3 separate regions of the Homo sapiens genome follow, and regions 1 and 2 are each linked to region 3. The links are contacts of gene promoters, found by promoter capture Hi-C in blood cells and fetal thymus (Javierre and others, 2016). All regions are on one chromosome and are shown on one strand. Each heading gives the region's core, a stretch centred on a gene start or on the middle of the fragment in contact. The rest is flanking DNA. Distances are from core to core; before and after follow the strand shown.

Region 1 (2,722 bases), core at 68-2,567, 600 kb before region 3:
CCCGGGAGCGCACCCGCCGCCCGCCCTCCCTGCGCTGCTGCCCCGCTGCTGGGCCAGACTCCAGCGGGCCCGCCTGGCATTTCACAGGCCAAAATCGAACAGAACCCCGAGTTTGCCAGGTATCAGTTTTGCTTTGTTTTTAAGCAGAAAAAGGCATCCAAGTCTATTTTTGAAGTTTTACACTGGGCTATTTCGAGTCAAACTATATGAATGAAAAGTGCTGTTCCTGCCTTATTTGGTTTAGGGCTAATAGCTATCGGAAGTGGCAGTTATGAAGTCGTTACAGTAAGACTTTATAAGATAATCTTCTTGAATCATGTGGGAACTGTTGGGGGGAATTTAATATCAGATTATTATTTTAAAAAGCAGTTATTTTAAAGTACAAAGGTAGGGATAAAGGTAAATGTGAAATTGCATGGACTTTTACGTTTGTGATGAGTAGTCGTCAAAGCTTCTTGCTTCTTAATTTTATCGGGAATGGAAGAATATAAATTATAATTCCTTAGAGCTGAGATTTCTTAGGAGATTTTAGTTTGCTTTTGTTTTTTCTACCAATAGACTAAATTGTCAAATAAGATATGGCAAACTAGGACTCATAAATTAGTTGAAACATGACTCTATGAAGCATAGATTATATTCAGTACTCTCTGGTTTATCTCTTCATATTTTCATTTGCAGCGCTGGTGGCAAGATCGATTTTCAAAAACAATTTTGTCTATAAAAAAACTTCAGGGTTCATATAACTTATAAAATTGTCAGTTCAGATTAATGGCAGATATTTACAATATTTAACTTTATTCAATTTGCAATTTGTAAATAGTAACTTGAGCAGTGATATCAGTTTCATGTTTCTTTCTGCATAGTATTGTTTTTCAAAAAAACCCTGTTTTTTATAGATTCATATTTTGGAAGTAACTTTAATAGCACTTCTTGGGAAATACAACAGGTTCTAATTTCACATTTTTCAATGGATTTCTAAAAAATACTGTGCTGGATAGTGAAGAGTGGATTTTATTGCCAGGAAACATATGTATGCTTTCTTTTTCCTCAGTGATGTGTTGACTTACCTAATACTTGTGGTGAAACGGCCTTCGAAGACCAGAATCCACTGTACTGGCCCCTTGCCAGTAATTTTGAACATCAAGTTTATATTTGGACCATTTAAACATATATTCTTTTAATTCCGGTCCCAGCTGATATATCAGTCTAATTTCTGATGACTTTTATTAGGGCCCTATATGAATATCTGGAAATTTTTATATTAAGATAAGTAGCTCTTTGCTACTTATCTAGAATTTTGTCACAGTGCTTAAACTGCTTGTATGGCAAGGTTGCAGCATACAATGTAATTTAGATTTTGAATCAACACACTGCTTTTTGTTTTTAAAAGTGCTTGTTCTAATATTTTAACTAAGATGTTAATCCATTAAGTCAGAAATCCTTGCTATTTTGCTCAACTCAAAAGAATATCCAAAGACTATCCCAACAGTAAGGTTCATCAGTTTTTCTAATACATATGCCATTTAATAATTAAAAATAGATTTTAAGGCCACGTGTGGTGGCTCATGCCTGTAATGCAACACTTTGGGAGGCCAGTGTGGGAGGATTGCTTGAACCCAGGAGTTCGAGACCGGCCTGGTCAACATAGGGATACCCTGTCTCTACAAAAATTAAAAAAAAATTAGCTGGGCATAGTGGCTCACTCCTGTGGTCTCAGCTACTTGGGAAGCCAAAGTGGGAGGATTGCTTGGGCCAGGGAGATCGAGGCTGTGGTAAGCCGTGATCACACCACTGCATTTTTGGTTCTGTCATAATCTGGTCACAATCCCTCTAATTTATCTGCACCTGTATAATTAATTTATCATAGTTATGGATTTGGTTGATGAATTTGATTCCCATGTTTAGCTTCTCGGTAAAATTATTAAGTTGGACAGTTTCCATGTCTCTTCTAACTCCAAGATCCTATAATGTTGTTTTTGTTTATGTAACTCTTCAGAGCCACCTACTACATGTGGTTCAAACTTCTGATTGTCAGCCTGTGACTTGCTATACATGTCAAACTGGCCTACCTTAGCCAGATGTGATGGGTGTGGTCCAGTGTTGGAGAGTCCGGATCTGTCTCAGGATTGTGTTAATACCTGGAACATGCACAAAGATACATACATACCTGGACAGATTCCGTGTTAAGCTTCTATCACTTTTTCTTCCTCATCTAATAGCAGAAAGTGCTGATTATGTCATAGGGTAAATGCCTAACTGGTTTTTGGGGATAGTTAAGCCCAGGCCTTAAGACAGTTTGATATTCAGTTTTGTTATTTAGGTCTGGGTTAGGGATACCGCCAGAGAGCATCCAAACATTTCTGTGGTTGGGAAGGCTAGTTATCTGTGAGCATTCCAGATGAAATAGCCTATAATGGGTTATCACCTTTTGATCTTACCTCAGAGAAGATTGAATTGGATCTACCTATCTGATTTAGCAGAATTAAACTGGATTTGGATGGAAGGGTAATCAGCTATTTAATTTGCCAGTTGTTAGTTAGCATTTCTTCTTGCTGTATCTCAAGGATTTACTTTGAATATTCTGTATTTTCTCTTTCCTGCCCATGATGGGTTTTCCTTTTAAAATGCTCAGCACAGGCTGGGTGTGGTGGCTCACGCCTGTAATCCCAGCACTTTAGGAGGCCGAGGCAGGCAGATCACCTGAGGTCAGGAGTTTGAGACC
Region 2 (3,124 bases), core at 584-3,083, 560 kb before region 3:
TGACTTTTCCAAATGGCCAATTATTTAGAAATTCTAACACTATACTATGCCTGAAGTAAAAATTTGCTTAGTTTTCCAGTGACAAACTAATAACCAACCAAATTTACAGTGAAAAATAAAGTATACCACCTTTAAATATAGCAGCAAGGTATTTCAACATGAACTTTACTGTTTTAACCTACTAAACTCAAAGCAAAACAAGACATTCTTATCTCTTATTCATTTATTATCTTGGGAAAATATTTAATAGTTTCGTTTTTTCTGATTCTAGAACCAAAATTAAAGTTATGGGATCCTTAGGTTTTGTTTTGTTTTGATTTTTCACACCGAAATATAAAATTTATGACTTAAAAGTACTCTAAGGTTTAGGTAACAGATCTAATTTACTTCTTAATAGGAAGTTAAAAAAGCCTTTCAACGTTTCATAGACTTTGTGAGAATCCTGTATGAAACTTGTCACTGACCCTATGTTGAAGGAGTAAATACAGGGAAAAGAGACATTGGCTAATAGATAAATGTATGTAACTTTTCTGATGTACTGAGGTGATTATTACTTTTTCCCCCTTATTATTTTGTTAGTTTTTAAGCTGAAAGTTATTGTATAGTTAGAGAAGAAAGAAGAAAAGTTGTTACATAATTTTTCCTGACAAAATATGATGACTGGCTGGGTGTGGTGGCTCACACCTGTAATCCCAGCACTTTGGGAGGCCGAGGCGGGCAGATCACCTGAGGTCAGGAGTTCGAGACCTGGCCATCATGTCGAAACCCCATCTCTACCAAAAATACAAAAATTACCCGGGTGTGGTGGTGGGCGTCTGTAATCCCAGCCACTCTGGAGGCTGAGGCTGAGGCAGGAGAATCGCTTGAATCCGAAATGCAGAGGTTGCAGTGAGCTGAACTCACACCACTGGACTCCAGCCTGGGTGACAGAGCGAGACTCCATCTCAAAAAAAAAAAAAAAAAAAAAGAAGAAGAAAGAAAATATAACAACTATGAGTTTTGCAGTCAGACAGCCCTGGGTTTGAGTTGATAAGTCTACTTGCTGTTTGTCCTTAATAAGGTATGTTATAACCTCTCCACGCCTCAGTTTCTGTATCTGTAAAATGGGCATGACAGCCACGTTCTAGAATTATTGAGAAGATTAAATGTATTTATGTGAAAGTGCCTAGACATGTGCCTGGCATGTAGGAGGACTCAAATTTTAGTTTTATTTTCTTCCTTCATTTCCCACTTTAATCATAAAAACAAGATAAGGTGTGAGGAAAATACTGTTCCCAGGGAATTATTATAGAAAAAGAATTACCAATAAAAGATTGCTGCACACTAAATACTGGACCTGGCTATCTTTTAAAATACAATTTTAACCTCAGAATTCACTGTAATCAAAATGAAGTAAGTGCTAATGGCTGTGATCCTTATAGCAGATCTTTGAGGGTGGCAACACATAGCAAAGGTGACTTGCTTCAGGTCACGTGGCTGGGAAGCAGGCAGAGCCACAAAGCAAACTGTTGCTGTACGTTTATTTGTACTAATAGCAAGAGCTTCATACTGGGGCTTCGAAACAATACTGGCCTTGAGGCAACAACACAGGACAAGCTTCGCTATAAAAAGAGACTTTGGACATATTTCAATAAATAAAATATCCTTGGACTATGTTCAAGATGGAACTGATCTATCTCAAAGTTACTCTGTAAGGAACGGTGTTATGATTAGATACCAAAATGGCAATATTATCTCCTCAAATATGTAATTGTGTTACATGTGTGTACACACACACTCACTTGTGCCTTCAAAAGACACTATTAAACATTTAAATAAAGGGAAAAATCTTTCCCAAACATACTTCTAAGCCAATTTAGAGGTCATTGAACAGATGTCATATAATACTAATGTTAAATTACCCTGTGTAATAAGAAAATTACAGTACCTAAGTGAAGATAGTAAAGGGAAACCATCCAATGAATTACTCCAGAATTTCAAAATGAAATGATTTTTTCAAGATTAACAGTGGCACCATATGACTTTAGAAAAGTGAGTCTGATAGGGAGAAGGGAAATAAGAGACAAAAGTGAAGCTTTTCTGTGTTTATATATACCAATATTTGGTTCTGATGATAGAAGGGCTAATGTAATAGTATAGCTTTAAATTGTCCAGGAAGTATATTATTATTATTAAATGGTGTGGCAAGATATTTATTAAAATCTGACCAACTTCTCATTGAATTGTTTAATGTAAAATCACAATAGTTGTTTCTAGTCTACATATATTTCCTTTTGGTATTAGATATACTTTGAAAACCTAATTATTTTGAGAATATAGTATAACCAAAGAATGAAAATGTACAAAGTTTGACAACTTTAAATAATCACTAGTATTTCTTAAAGGACAAACCTCACTTACAGTTAGGAAACAATATTTATACTTAAGGTTGAAAAGCCAGGATGTAAAAAAATTTTGCTAATTTGGAAGATGACCTTTAAGTGCACCAAAACCAAATAATTTGTAGGCTATGACATAGGGCACATTCCTACAAAATTTGTGTGAATACTGCTTTAGTGGTTCTTGAAAGACAAACAAAGAAAGCTGGAATGAAATCTTTATTCCCCTCCCAAATAAGACGGAGACTAACAAAGGAGTACAGCAGCACTCTTTCAAGGCTTGCCATTAAAACGAGGTCTCTGTAGCACAGTTAATGAGATGTTTCATAGTGGAAAACAATCTGTTTTTAAGAATGTTTAGATCAAAAGTAATTTCTAATCTATGAAATAAAGTCTCTTCAATACCCTTCATTCACTAGTAAAGCTTTTATGTTTGTATTATTTACTTCAATCAGATGTTTTCAATTTTACCTTTTTTTCTTGTACAAATACTTGACATGGTTCATCAATACTGACCAACGGTTTTATTCTCTTCGGAAAAGAGAGATTCATGAGAGAGGGAGAATGAAAAAGAGAGAAACATCTTTGCCTAAATGATTTGCAAGCATCTGTGCTTTAAGCTACTTTTTATGAACACTCCTTAGTAAATGACTCAAGGTAAAAAGGCAGAAAAGCATCCAATGTTAGGAAATTGCAATCCAATACCATGTAATTTAAACCTGCAGTTGCTTCTCTTGTACTAAATG
Region 3 (2,973 bases), core at 194-2,693:
ATCTTAGCATGGGTTGAAAGATATGAAAAGTTCCTTGATATGACTGGCACGATTCTATCCCATAAAACCACTCGTAAATATCAGTTGAAATAATGCCTGTAGGGAAAATTTTCAAATGTCCTTTCTGTCAATGCAGAAATGCCAGTGCAGCTTGTTTTCTGGGTGGCATGTAAGTTGTAGACAGGCACCACATTTTAGACATATTATGGTGGTGCGGTGAATTGACAGGCAGTTTACCACCATTTCCATGTATTAGATTATGTGTACCTCTGGCTATCCTGACACTTTGCCCCCAAAGTGGAGATAGTGAAAGAGAAGGAGAGAGGGAGAAGAACTCCTCGCATCTGTGCCCCTACCTCAGCAGCTCCTCCTCCTTGTCTCTGAGGGTCTCCAGAGTTTGAGAGTTTGGTGTCATGTTGGCCCAAGAGACTGTTGTCCTTTTGACAGCTCGGCTGTTTGTATCTCCAGAATGAAACATAATCAGATTTTTTTCAGATGTAGCATCTGCCTTCCCTCCAACATCCTTGGGTTAATCACGTGCTTGCTGGCCAGGATATGTAAATAAGACTTGGCTAAAAAAAACCCTTAAAGGATTATGAAGCAATCTTGCTTAATAGTAGCAGAACAAAACAAAACAAAAAACCACTCCAACAAATCCTCCTGTGTGCTACCAAGTAATGGAAAGATCCAGTTATGACTGGAACTGTCCTGGCCTGAGTATTGTCCTGGACCCAGAGGGAGCGAAGGAGGGAGGGAGGGAGGGAGGGAGAAAGAGAGAGAGAGAGGGGAGAAATATGAGAGGAGGAGAGAAATTGCTGAAGGAGAGCTTCACTCACTGACTCCGCACACATTCCCTCCCAGTGGTTGCTAATGAAGAGCCCGTGCTGGTGAAGGAAGCCTGCTGATCCCGGAACTGGCCTTGCGCGCAAGTGGTGGGATGACAGACACATTCCCTTCCTTGAACTGCACTCTTTTCCCTTGCACTCAGAGGTGGCCCGAGAGAGCCCCGGTAGGTCCCGGAGTATGTTTCCATGCTGCAGAAGGCATGGAGAGATTCCAATTGCGGGGGTTCCTCCGTAGCCTTTGCAGCTGAACGTCTCCATCTCCTGTCCCTGGGCGGTCAGTCGCTGGCATGGCTCTGTGGAGTTTTACCTCCCAGTTGTCTATCACCAAAGCTGTCCACCTTGTCCGGAGGGGAATGAGCGTGGAAACCCCTGGCGGCTGTACTGACAAAAGCAACCTTAGTCAATGACAGAGCTGGGCAGGCGGCGAGGTCTTGCGGGCTGGCCTTTCTGCTGCTGGTAGGAGGATCATGTGCTGCTATTTCGGAGGCTCCTGCCAGTTGGCCCCTGCCCACCTTTTCTGTTCATACTGAAGCAGCCAGGAACTGAGAGAAAGAGGAAGCCTCGGCTGTGCTCCGGGCTGCGCTGCCAGGGTTGCGTCTGTAGCAGGTCCAGCAGCAAAAACAAAACAGGGCAGAGCCCAGGGAGGCCCCAGCCACAGCAGCTGAGTGTGGAAACAAAGCAGCCCGCCCGCCCTGGGAAGCTGCCGCAGGCTGTGGAAGGGAACTTCTAGAGAGGCTGCATCCTCTCCAAGCCGGGAAACTGAGGCCTAGAAGACATGTGACGTATCTGAGCAGTGACCAAGCCAGGAGTAGAAATGTCTCCTGAGGGCCTGTCCCCACTGCTGTTTGGTTTTAATCGCTCAGCTCTTAATAGTGTAACCCTGGACAAGTGACTTACTCTCCCCAGCCTCCATCTCATCTGTAAAATGGGGATGAGAAAATACCTCTAAGGGTTGTTGTGACAATTAAATGAGAAAGCATAAACAAAGCACTTGGCACAATGCCTGGCCACTTAATGGGCCCTCAGTAAATGTTGGCTAGTTATGTGAACCAGAACTTGAGATGGAAGTGAAGCAGAAACGATAGGGAGTTGTTCAAAAATACCTGATCTGCTAGGGAAATATTTTTTAAAACAAGGCTGCTTTTCACAAGGAGGGGTAGGCACACTTGAATTAAGATCAGATTGATTATATGTTTTTGTTCAGCTTTGATGTTGAATTGTTTAATCAAATGGCAGACTCTGCCCCGCTTCCAGGAAGAGCTCAACTCCAACTAGGAGGAAGCAGGTAATGTGAGCCATGGCATCTTCCCCGTTTAGATTTCCTGACTCTTTGTTTATCTTCTTTGTCAATGTGCGTCTGAACCTTCCCAACAGAGTTTAAAATGTTCAACTTCAAAGCTAAATTCTGATGGAAAACACTTCCTAAGAGGCTGAAGGCTTACTCTAGGGGTGAAAGAAGAGGAAAGGCGATGGATCACACCACATTTGTGGAAAATGTTAATGCTATGTGATCTTGCCTCCTTAGACCCAGATAGATGCAAAGGATAAGGAACTCGGTTTATAGCAACAGATACTCCAAAAGTGCTTTGCATCCTGTTCTGACACTAACTGGTTGTGAATCACTTGTTAAAGATAAGGATAACAACAATACCATTTCTTGAGCCCTTACTGGGTGTCTGGTATTGTGCAAAGTACTGTCTATATATTACCTCAGTTTCCACAACAACCTTATGAAATATTTCTTCCTTTTGTGATGAGGAAAGTGAGACTTAGAGAGAAGTTAAATAACTTGTTCAAGATCACTCAGCTAATAAATGCTCCTATGCACTTAGTCACTGTGCTATGTCCTGCTTACCCCTTAATGTTGACCTTAATCCTAACTTGAATTTAGGTTAATGTCTATGCACTGCTTTTTTTTCACCTGCAAATCAAGGGCTGTACTAACAGTTTTGCTAAGGCCACTTCTTTGAAAATTGTAAATATTTCCAGAAAGAGGCACAGTTTACAATAAACATTCTTGCTTTCCAAATAAATTCTCCCCTATTAAAATCAATGTACCAGTTGTTATTTTCATACCTATGCATTGTTTAAGATAGAGAGTTCAGGACACAATTGAAAACTGGGAAAA

Evidence for each region. The method cuts DNA at HindIII sites, captures the fragments that hold promoters and counts their contacts. A CHiCAGO score of 5 or more calls a contact.
Region 1: a contact is called between a fragment that was not itself captured here and the fragment with the promoter of HMGA2-AS1 in region 3, in 1 of 17 cell types (endothelial precursors). The highest score is 5.8, in endothelial precursors.
Region 2: a contact is called between a fragment that was not itself captured here and the fragment with the promoter of HMGA2-AS1 in region 3, in 1 of 17 cell types (megakaryocytes). The highest score is 6.9, in megakaryocytes.

Annotation. Positions count from the first base shown.
Region 1 is chr12:65,279,399-65,282,120 of GRCh38, forward strand. The region is part of intron 1 of MSRB3 (methionine sulfoxide reductase B3); the gene reads left to right. Among named protein-coding and RNA genes, the nearest start is that of MSRB3, 2.1 kb to the left of the region's middle. RefSeq lists a silencer at 1-34. The HindIII fragment of the contact is 1,737 bases long and covers 450-2,186 here.
Region 2 is chr12:65,321,715-65,324,838 of GRCh38, forward strand. The region is part of intron 2 of MSRB3 (methionine sulfoxide reductase B3); the gene reads left to right. Among named protein-coding and RNA genes, the nearest start is that of MSRB3, 45 kb to the left of the region's middle. The HindIII fragment of the contact is 478 bases long and covers 1,595-2,072 here.
Region 3 is chr12:65,880,882-65,883,854 of GRCh38, forward strand. It overlaps HMGA2-AS1 (HMGA2 antisense RNA 1), which reads right to left and starts at 1,444. Exons shown (of 3, transcript NR_158985.1): 1 at 837-1,444. The region is part of intron 3 of HMGA2 (high mobility group AT-hook 2); the gene reads left to right. The HindIII fragment of the contact is 6,963 bases long and covers 1-2,973 here.